2 separate regions of the Homo sapiens genome follow, and region 2 is linked to region 1. The links are contacts of gene promoters, found by promoter capture Hi-C in blood cells and fetal thymus (Javierre and others, 2016). All regions are on one chromosome and are shown on one strand. The core of a region is centred on a gene start or on the middle of the fragment in contact, and the rest is flanking DNA. Distances in the headings are between cores, read along the strand shown. Region 1 holds the start of CYB5R2 (cytochrome b5 reductase 2). Region 2 overlaps SYT9 (synaptotagmin 9).

Region 1 (4,794 bases), core at 897-3,396:
CCCTGCCTCACATCCTACACAGAAATCAATTCCAAGTGGTTGAAAAACTTAAATGTGAAAGGAAAATCTTTAAATCTTGTTGGGGAAAATATAGAATATCTTTAAGGGCTTGGGTAGAAATAGACAAGTCACAAAAATCACTAACCATAACGGCAAAAAAATTGAAGATTGGTATATTTGGTTATACTGCAATTCAAATTTCTATTCATCAGACTACACCACAAAAAGGTGGGACAGAAAAGAAAGAAAGAAAAAAGAAAGAATAAGTTACAAATTACGAGAAAACATTACTAATTCATGTAACTGGCAAAGAAGGGATATCTAAAACATATAAAACCCCTAAAAATCAGTAAGAAAAAGACAACAGAAAAATGAGCAAAATTTATGAGCAGGCATTTTTTTTTTTCTGAAAAGGAAACTCCATGGGAAATAAATATATGAAAGGTGCTCAAACTTATTAGCAGTTATTAGGTAATGCAAATTGGATTCCTGATACATCATTTTACACTTATCGCATTGTCAAAAATTAAAATATCTGCCTATAATAACCAAGCACCTGCAGGTAAATCAAAAGTAAAGGCATTTGATTAAGTCAAAGAGAGAAAATTAAGTTTGTTTATTCATTCACACAGCAAGAATTTTTGAGCCTGTGGTGGTGTGTGTCTTGGGGAGAAGGGTTGGTAAAGTGTTATGGGTTATTGTTTTCACCCTGATTCTTATGTTGAAGCCCTAAGCCCCAGTACCTAAGGATATGACCTTATTTGAAGGTAGAGCCTTTACATAGGTAATCAAGTTAAAACAAGGTCATTAGGATGGACCCTAATTGAATATGACTGGTGTCTTCATAAAAGGGGAAATTTGGACACAGGGACACACACAGAGGGATGAAAATGTGGAGACATAGGAAGAAGATGCCCCTTCTCCTAGCCCCTCTCCTACAAACCTAGGAGAGGCATGGAACAGATCCTTCCCTCACAGCCCTCAGAAGGAACCCACTCTGCCCACACCTTGATTTTGGACTTCCAGCCCCCAGACCTGCGAGACAATAAATTTTTGTTGTTTAAGCCGCTCAGTCTGCGGCACTTTGTTACAGCAGCCCTAGCAGAGTCAAACAGGTGGGGATCTGCTTCTGGGCTTCTCTGTTTCACACAGGTCCTGAGGCAAGAATTTGCCTTTGCCTGTAATCAAGGGCGAGCCGGGCAGCCAAGGTTCCGAAACGCACCGTGAAGACCCTCTAACTGTGCCTACTATTCTGCTCCCCTCCGATCGGCGCGGGGCTCTTGTCCTTCCTCTCTCCACCCAGCGAATGAATGAACGCAGGAGCGCTCGGAGTACACGTCTTCAACTCGGCGACGCCCCTGCTTCGGCCCCACCCCGCAAACACCCGCCCCGGACCAGGCCCAGGGTAGGCGCCCATGAGGTATGTCGAATGAATATATTCGCGCGCTCTTTGCAGCTGCCTGAATTCTTCCTTCCCCAGCATCCCCCTCCGCCCGGTCACCCAGACGGCCTTCTCCAGCCTTGCCGAGCTTAAGTAAGCTGAGGGGCGCTCAGTGTGGCAGCTCTGCGTGTGCAGGGAAGGGGCCAGGATGCAGAGGGGCAGCGCAGGAGCGAGGACGCCACGGCTCAGCGCCCCGCCAGCCTCATGATGGAGCGCTGCCCTGGGGGCAGGGCTGACCCAGAGCCAGCGGCTCGTGAGTGAGAGCCCCCCGACCACGGCCCTTCTCGGGGAGCGGGCCAGCCGCCGGGGTCCCAGCCTGCGGGGTCCGCCCGCGCTTTTGTCCTCCCGGGCGTGCGTGTCCGGGTCTCGGCCGGTTCCCCGTCGGCCAGGCGGAGCTGCGGGGCGACGCCACGAGTCTGCGGGCCCGCGGCGGGGAGCGGCCCCCGGCCAACCCCAGTTCGACGACGTGTTGGGCGTCTCACTCCGGGTGGGTTCCGCGGCGGGGTGTATTTATGGAGTATTGAAGAAATATCTCCGTCGGGACGGCCGGAAGGAAAGAGGCCAGAGGCGCGGAGGCCGGCTAGAGCCGGGAACGAACGTCCGACCGGGAGGTTGGGGGCCGGAGCGGGAGGCGTGGGGAGAGGTCGTGGGCGGGACCGCGAAGGGCGGGGAGTGGGGCGGGCCGGCTCGGATTCCGGAAGGCTGAGACTCCAGTGACCCGGCGGGAGGAGAGGCAACTTTCCCTGTCGGGCTTGAGTTGGGAGAGGAGCAGGGCGGCCTTGTAGGGTAGGGACAGATGCGGGGAGGCTCCCGAGTCTCTGGCAGTTGAGTGCCCAGGCCCCCTTCGCCCTGTCCAGGAGACTGTTGGGGAGTCCCCAGGCCCTAAGTCACGGGGCACCTCTTAGAGCTACGCACCCTAGTTCTGTCTTTAGGGACTGGGCCCCTCATTCCGGATTGTGTGTTAGGGGTGATGTCCTCCCCCTTCACCTCAAGGAAGGGACTTCCAGTGTATGAACCTTTGGCTGTAGCCAGGAGGGGCCTAGTGACCTGAGCACCCCAGGCCATGTGTGCTGCCTGCTCCAGGGGCCTGAAACATCCTTCCTGTGTGACCTGCAGCTGACCCCTCCCTACCCTCTGGTCCACGACAGGCTCTCCCAGCCGCCTTCTGTGTCACTACTGTTCTCTTTGCCTATTTCCTGCAGGCAGAGCTCAGCTCCTGTGCCTTTGGTGTGGGGAGGGTGTTCTGCGCCTGAGAGCTGCCCTGTCCAGGGCGGGCAAGACCTGAGGTGCTCTGTTCACATTGTGTCTGCCAGGACCCGTCCCTGCTCCTGACCATCACCGTCACTGGGGTCACTGTGCTCGTGTTGGTCCTGAAGAGCATGAACTCCAGGAGGAGAGAGCCAATCACCTTACAGGACCCTGAAGCCAAGTACCCGCTGCCCTTGATTGAGAAAGAGGTAATGGGTCAGCCCTGTGGGTGGAAGGCAGTAAGTGGATGATGGCTGGGATGGCAGGGCATCCAGACAGTCATCTCATGGCCTCCAGTTCACTCCCCGCCGCCCTGTGTGTGTGTGTGTGTGTGCTGGAATAGCGCCAAACGGACCTCCTTTCCCAGGCATCTCAGCTGCCCAGCAAGGCTTCTAGAAAGCTGACAGAACCTGCCTATGTTTTGTTTTATCAGAAAATCAGCCACAACACCCGGAGGTTCCGCTTTGGACTGCCTTCGCCGGACCATGTCTTAGGGCTTCCTGTAGGTGAGCCGGGCTTGGGTCATCACCAGGACTGGGGCCTCTGGGGGCTAGGCCCTCCTCTCTTAACAGAAACACAGGTTTCCCACGTCCTGAGGTGTGGAAGATGCCCTCTTGCTCCTCCTGAGCCTGTGAGCTCAGGGAGATAGATAGGGGGATGGATGTGGGACAGAAAATTTCTTTTCTTCATTATTCCAATTGGGCTGACACGAGAGTGGTACCTCAGTGAGCATTGAAAAGAACTGAACCTAGAGCCAAAAGGCCTAAAATCTCATGGAAGGCTCCTTGCTGGGGAACTTAAGGGAAGTCCTTCAATCTCTCTGAGCCTCAGTCTATGAAATGGGATTTCCCAGGCCTGCCTGTCTACCTCACTTGGGTTGTTGTGAAAGTAGAGTGACTGATGGATATGAAAATTCAGAAACTACAAAGTATTGTGCACCTGGGAGGGATGGGAGGAACCAGTGGTCGGGGAAAGGCCCAGAATGTGCGGGTAGGCAGGAATGAGTCAGGTGTGCCCTGCCCCCAAGGTCACTTAGATTCTCTGCAGGGGCCTCAGACCCACATAAGGAGGGACCAGCCCTACGAGTTGCAGATTCCAGCCCTAGGAGTCCTAGAGTTGAGTTATCCCATTTCTAATCTGTAACACCACTAGATAGCTGAGTCAGTCTTAGTGCAGTAGAAAACTGCTAGAATCAGGGATTCAGAGCAGCTTTGTATAATCTGCTAGTGCTGCTTGCCTGCCTGGTGGATCCTACTCCGTGGCCTATTTGTCTTATATGCACAGGCCAAAACCTTGACCTCAGCTCTATCAGGTGGTGAGATTACACTCTAGCCAGCTCGCTGGGCCCCTGAGCCTCCTTGCTGTTCCCTCACTCCATCTCTATGCACGAGAGCTCAGTGTTGTGCGTGCCGTCTCTCAGCTCCCTGCTCGGCCTGTCAGGCAGGTCCTGTTGGCAGGAAGCCTAAAAGAATGAAAAACTTTGAGATAGAGAATTGCTTAGAAACTGCCTTGACCCACTATCTCCTCAGCCTTGGCCTAGGCCGTGCAAAGTTAGTGGGACAAGGTAATGTAGAGGCCTCTGGGAGAGTCTAATATGAGGCCTCAGAGTTCGCTGCTTCGTCCCAGCCCAGTGGAAGTGAAGCAAGTTAGAGATGGGGCTTGAAGGACCAGCCAGGGAGCCCCATTTGCCCTGGGGACACCCTCAGGCCAGGCCTAGGTGGCTGCATATGAAAGAGCCTTTCCAGGTTTCCAGTTTCAGGTTCTCAGAAGGAAGCTAGGTGTCTCACTTACTCCTGGCTATCCCTGGTGCCCAGAGGGACCATGACCAGAGTCATTGAGCCTGTTCTGAGCCCAGAGTGTTGGCACCTCAAAGACTTGGCTCATCCCCTTGAATCAGCTTCAGGGACCAGCCCCTCTAGTGCCTACTCTGCCTGCTTTTTTCTCCTCCTGCCTCCTCCTCCTCCCTGCACCTTAGGTCTTGGTTTCTATCCATCTCTCTGTTCCATCTTCCTTGTCTCGACTAATTTCCCGTATGTAGTCCACTCAGTTTCTGAGCGAGTAGAAACTGAGGGAGTAAACTGACTACATACATACAGGAAGTTAGT
Region 2 (4,794 bases), core at 1,563-4,062, 330 kb after region 1:
TCATGGAGAACCTCTGCTAGGGCAGTGTGGAAGGGAAATGTGGTGTTGAAGCCCCCACACAGAGTCCCCACTGGGGCACTGCCTACTGGAGCTGTGAGAAGAGGGTCACTGTCCTCGAGACCCCAGAATGGTAGATCCACCTACAGCTTGCACTGTGCACCTGGAAAGGCTGCAGACACTTAATGCCAGCCCACGAAAGCAGCCGGGAGGGAGGCTGTACCCTGCAAAGCCACAGGGGCAGAGCTGCCCAAGACCATGGGAACCTACCTCTTGCATTAGTGTGACCTGGATATGAGACATGGATATGAGACAGGATATCATATTGGAGCTTTAAGATTTGACTGCTCTGCTGGATTTCAGACTCCCATGGGGTCTTTAGCCCCTTTGTTTTGGCCAATTTCTCCCATTTGGAATGCGTGTATTTATCCAATGCCTGTACCTCCATTGTATCTAGGAAGTAACTAACTTGCTTTTGATTTTACAGGCTCATAGGTGGAAGGGACTTGCCTTGTCTCAGATGAGTCTTTGGACTATGAACTTTTGAGTTAATGCTAAAATGATTTAAGACTTTGGGGGACTTTGGGGAAGGCATGATTGGTTTTGAAATGTGAGGACATGAGATTTGGGAGAGGCCCAGGGGTGGAATGATATGATTTGGCTCTGTGTCCCCTCTCAAATCTCATCTTGAATTGTCGCTCCCATAATTTCCACATGCTGGGGGAGGGACCTGGTGGGAGATAATTGAATCATGGGGGCAGTTTTCCTTATACTGTTCTCATGGCAGTGAATAAGTTGCATGAGATCTGATGTTTTTATAAGGGGTTTCCCCTTTCACTTGGCTCTCATTCCCTCTTGCCATAAAGCCATGCCTTTTGCCTTCCACCATGATTGTGAGGTCTTGCCAACCACGTGGAACTATGAGTCCATTAAACCATTTTCTTTATAAATTACCCAGTCTTGGGTATGTCTTTATCAGCAGCATGAAAATGAAATAATACAAAGACTGACTGCTTCTTGCAAATATGACTGAGATGTGAGTCATATCAGTATGATTACACACAGTATGATTACACATATGTAATCATATATGTGATTTAAACTTGACTCCTCTGCTTCATAAAACCAACTCAGTCTCATGGCCGCTGTCTTAGTCCATTTTCATACTGCTATGAAGAAATATCTAAGACTGGGTAATTTATAAAGAAAAAGAGGTTTAATGGATTCAGTTCCATATGGCTGAGGAGGCCTCACAATCATGGCAGAAGGTGAAAGAGGAGCAAAAGCATGTCTTACATGGCAGCAGGTAAGAGAACGTGTGCAGGGGAACTGCCCTTTATAAAACCATTAGATCTCATGAGACTTATTCACTATCATGAGAACAGCATGGGAAAAATCCACCCTTATGATTCAATTACCTCCCACCAGGTTCCTCCCACAACACATGGGGATTGTGGGAGCTACATTTCAAGATGAGATTTAGGTGGGGACACAGCCAACGCATATCAGAAGCATCTTCCAGTAGCCCTTACATCCTGTGCCTAAACACAAGATTAATGTTTTCCAACTCAAAGGAGTCCGAGGTGTGTAGAGACTGGAGCAGTCCTCCAGTACAGCACAGCAGCTCTCTGAAGAAGCAGGAAGACTGCATTTTCATGCAGGTCCTGGATCCCATTTCTCTTCACTGGGTAGAATCTCCCAGCCAAGGTCTACAAGCACCTCTGCTGGTGTTTTCCAGCTAGTAACAGCTTCAAACTTCCCTGAGACAGAGCTCCCAGAGGTAGGGACAGACCATCATCTTTGCTGTTTCACAACCTTCACTGTTGATACTTTCAGGTGCTAGAAAATCCAAGGTGAGTAGGAACTGGAGCAGACCCCCAGCACACTGCAGCAGCCCTGTGAAAAAGTAGCCAGAGTGTTTGTTATGTGGCTCCCTAATCCTGTATCTCCTCACTGGATGTGGCCTCCTGGCCTAAGACTCCACTATTCCCCACTGGGGCTACTGAGCCAGTAATAGCTCTGCAATTGCCTGGGACAGAACTCCCAGTGGGAAGGGTGGATTACCATCTTTGCTGTCTTGCAGCCATCACCCTTGCTGTCTCCAGGCTCTAGAGAGTCTGCAGGCACCAGGGGCTTGTCCAGACCTCCAGTACAGAACACCTACCTCACAGAAAAGTGACTGGATTGTTCTCCATACAGGTCCTGGTCCTCACTTATCCTCACTGGTTAGGGCTGCCTGATCTCAGACTCTAGCACAATAACCCTGCTCCTGCCTGACCACTTCAATCAGAAGCAGCCCAGCAGTTAAAAGAATACCCACATGCAGAGATGAGAAAGAACCAGCACAAGAACTCCAACAACTCCAATAGTCAGAGTGTCTTATATCCTCCAAATGTCTGCACTAGTTCTTTAACAAGGGTTTGTTACAAAGCTTAGTTGTCTGAAATGACAGAAATAGAATTCAGAATATGGATAGGAACAAGGATTGTTAAAATTTAGGAGAATGGCAAACTCATCTCAAGAAAACTAAGAATCACAATATAATTATTCAGGAGCTGATAGAAAAAATAGCCAATATAAAAGAGAACCTAACTGACCTGATAGAGCTGCAAAACACATTACAAGAATTTCACAATACAATTGCAAGTATTAACAGCAGAACAGACCAAGCTAAGGAAGGAATCTCAGAACTTTTAGACTGGCTTTTTGAAATAAGGCAGTCAGACAAAAATAAAGAAAAAAACAATGAAAAGGAACAAACAAAACCTCTGAGAAATATGGGATTATGTAAACAGGCCAAATCTATTAATCATTGTCATTCCTGAAAGGTATGAGGAGAAAGCAAACAACTTGGAAAACATATTTCAGGATATTGTCCATGAAAACTTCCCCAACCTTCTTAGAGAGGCCAACAGTCAAATTCAGAAAACACAGAAAATCCCTGCAAGATTCTACGCAAGAAGATCATCTCCAAGATGCATAATCATCAGATTTTCCAAGGTTGAAATGAAAGAAAGAATGCTAAAGGCAGCTAGAGAGAAAGGACTGGTCACCTACAAAGGGAACACCATCAGACTAACAACAGACTTCTCAGCAGAAACTCTACGAACCAGAAGAGATTAGGGGGCCTATATTCAAAGTTCTTAAGGAAAAAAAAATCTTCAACCAGGAATTTCATATCCAACCAAACTAAGCTTCCCTAGTAAAGGAGAAATAAGATCCTTTTCCGACAAGCAAATGCTAAGGGAGTCTGTTATCACCAGACCTGCCTTACAAAAGATCTTGAAAGGAACACTAAATATAGAAAGGAAAGGCTGTTAGCAGTCAGTGCAAAAACATACTTAAGTACACAGACCAGGGACACTAAAATGCAACCACACAAACAAGCTGGCGTAACAACCAGCTATCAACACAATGACAGGATCAAATGCACATATATCAATATTAACCTTGAATGTAAATGGATTACGTGCCCCATTTAAAAGGCACAGAATGGCACGCTGGATAAAAAAAGCATGACCCAAGGACATGCTGTCTTCAAGAGACCCATTCCACATGCAATGAGACCTATAGCCTCAAAATAAAGGGATGGAGGAAAATCTACCTAGAAAATGGAAATCAGAAAAAAGCAGGAGTTGCAATCCTAACTTCAGATAAAAACAGACTTTAAAACAACAAAGATCAAACAAACAAAAAAAGCCCAAAGAAGGTCATTACATATTGGTAAAGAGTTCAATTTAACAAGACCTAATTATTCTAAATATATATGCATCCAACACAGGAGCACCCAGATTCATAAAGCAAATTCTTAAGAGACCTACAAAAATACTTATACTCTCACACAATAATAGTGGGAGACTTAAACACCCCACTGCCATTATTCAACAGATCACTGAGGCAGGAAATTAACAAAGATATTCAGAACCTGAACTCAATATTGGACCAAATGGACCTGATATACATCTACAGAACTCTCCACTCAAAAACAGAATATATATTCTTCTCATCACTACATGGCACATACTCAAATCGAGCACACGATCAGACATAAAACAATCCTTAGCAAATGCAAAACAACCAAAATCATACTAAACACACTCTCAGATCATAGCACAATAAAAATAGAAATCGAGACAAAAAATCACCCAAAACCATGCAATTACATGGAAATTAAACCACCTGCTCCTGAATGACTTTGGGGTAAATAATGAAATTAAGGCAGAAATCAAGAAGTTCTTTGATACTAATGAGAACAAAGACACAACATAACAGAATTTCTGGTACATAGTTAAGGTAGTGTTAAGAGGGAAATACACAGCACTAAACACACACATCAAAAAGCTAGAAAGGTATCAAATTAACAACCCAACATCACAACTAAAAGAACTATAGAAGCAAGAGTGAAGCAACTCTAAACTAGCAGAAGACAAGAAATGAAAATCAGAGCTGAACTGAAGAATATTGAGACATGAAAAATCATTCAAAAGATCAATGAATCCAGGAGCTTGTTCTTTGAAAAAGCTAATAATAATAGATAGGTCACTAGTTAGATTAATAAAGAAGAAAAGAGACAATATCAATTAGAAATGACAAAGGAGATGTAACCACAGATGCCACAGAAATACAAACAACCATCAGAGACTACTACAAACACCTCTACGCACACACATTTAAAAACCTAGAAGAGATAGATAAGTCCCTGGACACATACATCCTCCCAAGACTGAACCAGGAAGAAACAGAATCCCTTAACAGGCCAGTAACAAGCTCTGAAATTGAAACAAGAATAAATAACCT

The links. Contacts are between HindIII fragments. The CHiCAGO score rates a contact against its expected background, and 5 or more counts as called.
Region 2: a contact is called between a fragment that was not itself captured here and the fragment with the promoter of CYB5R2 in region 1, in 1 of 17 cell types (naive B cells). The highest score is 5.0, in naive B cells.

What each region holds. Positions count from the first base shown.
Region 1 is chr11:7,670,852-7,675,645 of GRCh38, reverse strand. It overlaps CYB5R2 (cytochrome b5 reductase 2), which reads left to right and starts at 2,146. Exons shown (of 9, transcript NM_016229.5): 1 at 2,146-2,227; 2 at 2,755-2,898; 3 at 3,123-3,195. The coding sequence starts at 2,821. RefSeq lists a silencer at 1,634-1,843 and enhancers at 2,364-2,463, 2,484-2,533. The HindIII fragment of the contact is 8,029 bases long and covers 1-4,794 here.
Region 2 is chr11:7,338,010-7,342,803 of GRCh38, reverse strand. The region is part of intron 3 of SYT9 (synaptotagmin 9); the gene reads right to left. Among named protein-coding and RNA genes, the nearest start is that of SYT9, 89 kb to the right of the region's middle. The HindIII fragment of the contact is 763 bases long and covers 2,431-3,193 here.